Linked DNA regions of Homo sapiens: region 2 is linked to region 1. The links are contacts of gene promoters, found by promoter capture Hi-C in human tissues and cell types (Jung and others, 2019). All regions are on one chromosome and are shown on one strand. Each heading gives the region's core, a stretch centred on a gene start or on the middle of the fragment in contact. The rest is flanking DNA. Distances are from core to core; before and after follow the strand shown. Region 1 holds the start of CCDC122 (coiled-coil domain containing 122). Region 2 overlaps LINC00428 (long intergenic non-protein coding RNA 428).

Region 1 (3,246 bases), core at 353-2,852:
ACGAATCCCACCATTGTAAAAACAGAGATAAATGTTTAAAACCTTTGTAACTAAAAGACCTCTGTTTTGCTTGAGGTATTAAGCTGGTGCAAAAGTAATTGTGGTCTTTGTCAATGGCAAAAACCGCAATTACCTTTGCACCAATCTAATGATATTTAACATAAACAAACTCAGGGCAGAGTGCACCTTCTGATTGGGTGTACCATCTACCGCTCGGGGCTCTTTAACAAATGACCAAAGAAAACATGAATTTTGACATAACTGGTGCTAGGGTTATTGAAGGGTGGGTTTCCATTCTGGGTTAGTGCTCCCAGTCTCTAGTCAAGCACAAGAACATGCCTACCCCAGAGGGCTCTTCCAAATTCCCAGCTATCTGAGATTATGAGACAAAGGTTCTTTAGCGCCTACCAAATGAGCAACAATGAAGATAAAAGGGACCTCTCCTTCCATCATAACCAGTTCCCCAGGAAGCACCATTTCTCTTACTCTTGGAAGGTCGGATATTTTTTCCCTTTACCATACACTGGCCTTCCATGTCCTAACTGCTATTTTCAAATAAATGAACGTTATATTCTTGGAGGACAGATCAGGGATGCTAAACTGCACCTTTATCATGATTTTAGGGATGAGCGCCTTTTACTTAAGTCCTGCTAGTGGCACATATTTTAAAAGGCCATAGAGGACATCCGTGTTGTCAACACAAGTGAAGGCGCTCGGAAGAGTGTTGGTCAGCAAGAATCAGCACAAAGACATTGGAGGAGAGACAACAGCTTGTTTCTGGAAACAAATGAACAACAAAAAAACACTAAAACATCTCGAGGGGGCCCCTGACTTGAGCCCTGCATGGGAAAAGCTGCCAAGAGCTAGCATGACAAGGGACTGGCCCTGGGCTGCGGTGAGGAAACCCAGCGTCCTGACCACACTGCTGGGTCAGCGAGGCGTCCCTCAGAGACCGGAAACGCGGACTTCAGCTCGCTTGGGAAACGGCTTCCATTAGCAGAAGGGAGACTGCGGTTTAGTCCCGAGGTCGCTCCAGCAGCCCGGCCTCACGCGACCCACCATTCCCGCCGCCCCCTCACGGTGCCCGCCGTTCCCGCCGCCCGGCTTTCTAACCGGGCCCCTAGTTCCCCGCCCCGTGCCCTCTGGAGACCTGCAGCTCCTGCCGCCCTGCGCCCGCTCCCAGGGCCCGTCGTTCCGCCGCCCTATCCCTCCTCAAGGGGCCCCTAGCTGCCTCCTCGCGACCCTTTCCGGACTCGGCCTGCCCACTCCTGCCCGCTAACCCGCCTGGCTCCCGGGCGAGAGCCCTCGCGCGGCTCTGGTTCCTGTTCCTCTAACGCCGCCGGGGCTGCGGGATGCCGACTCCGCGGACCGCCCAGACCCGGAACTGCTGAGGCAGCAGCGGGCTCGCGGCGCTTGGCTCATCCCGGGATTCCCCAGCTCTCGCGCTGGGCCCGCCGCGTTCGCACCAAGCACGCCAGGCGGCCCTGGCCTACCTCCCTCCCGCCTCCCGGCAGCTGGCACGAGGGAACCTGGCCGTCAGGTTTCCCCTGGGATCCTGGGACGGTATCAGGCGGGGAATCTGTGCGGCCGCGGCGAGGTAGGTGAGGTGAGGCGGGGCGAGGTGGGCGAGGGGGGCGAGGTGAGGCGGGGCGAGGCGGGGCGAGGCGAGGCGGGGCGAGGTGGGCGAGGTGGGCGAGGTGAGGCGGGGCGGGTGTCGTCGCGCTGGGCCGAGCTTACGACTCCAGCTGACCCGCTCGCGGCTGCCCAATTTCGTTGAGGCTCAGGACGAGGGACGGGGCGGCAAATTGTCACAGAGGTCGCCGTAGACCGGTGTGCAACCGAAGGTGAAGAGCGGGAAGGCGAGGACCGAATCGCCTCTGGTGTGCGTTGTCCGACAGGAAGTCCCGAATGGGCTGTGAGCCGCCGGTGGAGGTGCCCGGGCAGGTGCAGAGCCACAGCCTGCGCCCCGTGAGCCGAGGCGGGTAGGAGGAACAGGGACCTGGCGGCGACACACGTTGGGCGGAAATTCACAATGAACAGGGAAGGGGGGACGGTCACCCACTCAAAACTGGCTAAATGAACCTCAGAGGGAGCCCCGAGAGATGGGGAGCAAAGGTTAGGGGAAGCGGCAGGAGAAAACCTTCTTGGGGCAAAGGGCGTCACCAAAGGGGGTCACCGGAGCCCCGCAGGTTGGGGTGGGAGGGCTGGGCTGGAGGTGAGCAAAGCTGCACGGGGAGAATGAATTAAGAAAGTTGAGAGGAAGCCTGTCTCATCCAAATCACTATAGCTTTTGTGGTCATTGCTAAGTGTGGAGTACTGCGCAAATCCTGAAGGGAACTCTATTAGCCATCTCAGCTTTTATCATCTTAAAACGCGAATTTCGCGTGCAGCTCCATTTAGCTTCGTAAACTTAAGCCCCCGCATATGAAAGGATGAGACCTAATATGACAATCATGTCAGGACTAATGATATATCACACAGGTTGACACTCTGCAATTTAAAAACAGGACTTTGTCTAAACTCCACAAGTAATTCCTTACTCAAAAGTTCTGTGTAAACAAAACAGAGGAACTGTCGTGCTGCTGGAAAGATGTACCAGCATTTTCACAAAACGAATTAAAAGATGGCTTTGCTTTCACTGTCATGGTTCTGTTGTGACAGAGTAGACTGGCTTTTCTGGGAGGGGCCTAGATTTACTATTTTAGTTACATTTTAAAATCAGTGTAATTACTTCGTTTTTAATCTACCACAAATTTCTGTTGTAACTATAAGATTTATATAATCTTATATTCTTACACTAATTTTTATTTGCAGGTGATTTATTTGGCATAAAAGTATTCTTTCAAGGATGGCAGAAGCTGTTTTGATTGATCTTTTTGGTTTGAAATTGAACTCTCAAAAAAACTGCCATCAGACATTACTGAAGACTTTGAATGCTGTCCAATACCACCATGCTGCCAAGGCCAAGTTTCTCTGTATAATGTGTTGCAGTAACATCAGCTATGAAAGGGATGGAGAACAAGATAATTGTGAAATAGAAACAAGCAATGGATTATCAGCTCTCTTGGAAGAATTTGAGATTGTTAGCTGTCCCAGCATGGCTGCCACTTTGTATACCATTAAACAGAAAATTGATGAAAAAAATCTGAGCAGCATTAAGGTAATTGTACCCAGGCACAGGAAGACATTAATGAAAGCTTTTATTGATCAACTCTTCACTGATGTTTACAATTTTGAATTTGAAGA
Region 2 (3,246 bases), core at 215-2,714, 1.0 Mb before region 1:
TTACAAACCCTAACCAGTTTAATAAACTCAAACCAAGAGATTATAAAAACTGCTCCTACAGTAGTGAAACCCTAAATTTTACTTGCAAAAGTAAATGCAAAATTGAGCCATGGCGGGGGCATGATTTACATAGAAAAACAACCCCAGTTTAGCAGGAGCTAACAGTAAAAACTACAAACAACACAAGAAATGAAACCACCTGAAGGAAAATCAGCAGACACATCAATCAGGAGGCGCAACACTGATTTCCAAAGTAGCTGATAAAACAATCGAAAGAGATTATAAAATAAGTACGGAAACTAAAATGAAAGAGCTGGGCTATGAATAAAGGAGAGGCAAGTCAAAAATAAAAACAAAACACGTGACTGTAGGTAATTAACATTAAAACTTTATTAAAATGTAAAAACTCAATGAGTAGGTTAAGTAGCAAATGAAAACCAGCTCTAGAGAGAATTAGTAAACTACAAGATATATTTGAGGAAGTAACACAAAATGCAGTACAATCCAATACAAAGAAATATGAAATAGGCAAGGGGGATTAAGGAAGGGGAAGAATAGAAGAAAAAATTCGACATGTATTCAACAGAATATAGCAAGAAGTAGAGAATAGTAAAGAAAAAACAAAACAACAACAAAAAAAACTGCAGTATCAGCCGGGCGCGGTGGCTCATGCCTGTAATCCCAGCACTTTGGGAGGCGGAGGCAGGTGGATCACGAGGTCGGGAGACCGAGACCATCCTGGCTAACACGGTGAAACCTGGTCTCTACTAAAAATACAAAAAATTAGCTGGGCGTGGTGGCCGGTGCCTGTAGTCCCAGCTACTCGGGAGGCTGAGGCAGGAGAATGGCGTGAACCCGGGAGGCAGAGCTTGCAGTGAGCCGAGATCGCACCACTGCACTCCAGACTGGGAGAGAGAGCGAGACTCCGTCTCAAAAAAAAAAAAAAAAAAAAAAAACAGTACAGTATTTAGGTCTGCCTAATCACAGTACTCTGCAATCCTGGACATAAGGTTTGGTCCAAGGGTGAACACATATCCAAACAAGTCCATATAAAATCCTCCCACCACCATCTCCCAGGAGAGTTATGTGATGTTGGGAGCGTTAAGATCTTTTCACTTGGCCAGGCTCAGTGGCCTCACACCTGTAATCCCAGCACTTTGGGAAGCCGAGGTGGGACGATCACTTGAGGCTAAGAGTTTAAGACCAACCTGGGCAATATAGTGAGATCCTGTCTCTATTCTTAAAAAAAATTAATAAATAAAATTTTAATAAGGATCTTTTCACTGGGTTGCTGAACTGTGTGGTAAGATATAAAGTCAGGGAAAGGGTCTTGTGCTTTCGGTGGTGGGGCTAGAGAAAGGAACACTGCACCATGGAATGAAAAACTTTTCTAGCTCCTTAGCGTTTTCCCCCTACACACACTCATTGTCTTCATTCCTTATGCAAGCTATGTCCAGGGAGAAAGGAAAACATTTTTTCTTAGCACCCACTCAACCAGACACTTTCCTAGGCGGTGGGAATGATAACCTGAATAAGACCTGATCCATGGAGAACCTGAGTGCCAGAGGCTGGGAAGGGCTGGACCCCAGGTCTCCTGATGTTGAATCCAGGGCTTCTCCTGCTCTCTTCTTCCCTCCTAATTTTACAGCACTGTGTACCAGGTGCGACAGTGATTGAGCGCTAAGTAAAGGTATTTTAACCTTCGAGACACCCTGGTTGGAGTTCACAATGAAATGAAATGCACCAGCCTCCCTCTGGTAGCCAGAGTCTCTGGCCATGCTCTTGTAGCAGAAGCTTCTCATTTGGAACAGCTCAGACTCCCTGGGCTCTTTGAAAGGATTGGTGGAGATGAGTTTCTATGTTTTACAATTGTGACAAAAATCCTCTGCTCATAGCCTAAGGGAGTGTGAAGTGGAGTACAGGGTGAGGGCCAAATAATCATGCACGGGACACGCAGCCAGAGTGTCTGGGATGCCAGGGGGGTGTCTGCTGAGCGATTAGGACAGGGCAGCAGACACAGTGATTAAATGGAGAGGAGGGGCTGCTGAAAATGAAAGAAAACGCTGCAACATGCAAAAGCACTGCCATGCTACACCACAGAAAATAATGGATTAAATAATCGACTTAAATCCTTTTGCATCTGGGTGAAACCCAAGTGAAACCAAGTAAATTAACTCAAAAGGTTTCTGGACCAGCAACTTACCTTCAAGGCTGTTAATGTAAGCTGTTCTTTCTCCCTGAACTTCATTATAGACAGGATAACTTTTTCCTGATTCGCTTAGGACAGTCCCAGCTTACACTTCCTGTCTCAGTATCTTATCTCTTTCAGCATTTGTCTGAGATTTTTAAAGGAAAGTATTATGGTTAATAGTTGCATTACAGTTAGCCAGGATGGGTTCAGCAGACTTCTGGAGCAGATGCTGTGATGTCATCCCAGAGTCTCCTCAAGACTGAAGGGCTACTCCACCAGCTGCAGCGAGGGCTTCTGGCAGAGATCCCCAGCTGTCAGCCCTCATCGGAATTGCTTCAAATGAAGAGTGTCATCTCACCCACCACCATGCCCTCTTCCCAGGGTGCCCACAGCCAAGAACTGGTTTATAAGGAGATATAAAGGTCTGGCCCCCACTTTGTCTAGAGCTGGCCATGTGGTTGCTCTCTGTTGAGGCTGAATCATAGGCTGTGATGGTTAAGATTGAGTGTCAACTTGATTGAATTGAAAGATGCAAGGTATTGTTCCTGGGTGTGTCTGGGAGGGTGTTGTCAAAGGAGATTAACATTTGAGTCAGTGGACTGGGAGAGGCAGACCCACCTGCAGTCTGGGTGGGCACCATCTAATCAGCTGCTAGAATAAAGCAGGCTGAAAAAGGTAGAAAGAGCAGACTTACTGAGTCTTCTGGCCTTCCATCTTTCTCTCTTGCTGAATCCTTCCTGCTCTTGAACATCAGACTCCAAGCTCTTCAGCTTTTGGACTCTTGGACTTAGACCAGTGGTTTGCCAGGGGCTCTCGAGCTTACGGCCACAGACTGAAGGCCACATTGTCGGCTTCCCTACTTTTGAGGTTTTGGAACTCAGACTGGCTTCCTTGCTCCTTAGCTTGCAGACAGCCTATTGTGGGACTTCACCTTGTGATCTTGTGAGTTGATTCTTCCTAATAAACTCCCCTTCATATATACATCTATCCTATTAGTTCTTTCCCTCTAGTGAACCCTGACTAATGCATCAGCCAACTTCTCTTCCTGCCCCATC

What was found. The method cuts DNA at HindIII sites, captures the fragments that hold promoters and counts their contacts. A contact is called where the count stands out against the background at its distance.
Region 2: a contact is called between a fragment that was not itself captured here and the fragment with the promoter of CCDC122 in region 1, in 2 of the 25 tissues and cell types used here (dorsolateral prefrontal cortex and lymphoblastoid cells).

What each region holds. Positions count from the first base shown.
Region 1 is chr13:43,878,138-43,881,383 of GRCh38, forward strand. It overlaps CCDC122 (coiled-coil domain containing 122), which reads right to left and starts at 1,603. Exons shown (of 7, transcript NM_144974.5): 1 at 1,494-1,603. LACC1 (laccase domain containing 1) reads left to right here and starts at 1,767. Exons shown (of 7, transcript NM_153218.4): 1 at 1,767-1,982; 2 at 2,815-3,246. The coding sequence starts at 2,849. RefSeq lists a silencer at 1,505-1,654. The HindIII fragment of the contact is 6,836 bases long and covers 1-3,246 here.
Region 2 is chr13:42,863,474-42,866,719 of GRCh38, forward strand. The region is part of intron 2 of LINC00428 (long intergenic non-protein coding RNA 428); the gene reads right to left. Among named protein-coding and RNA genes, the nearest start is that of LINC00428, 7.6 kb to the right of the region's middle. The HindIII fragment of the contact is 5,174 bases long and covers 1-3,246 here.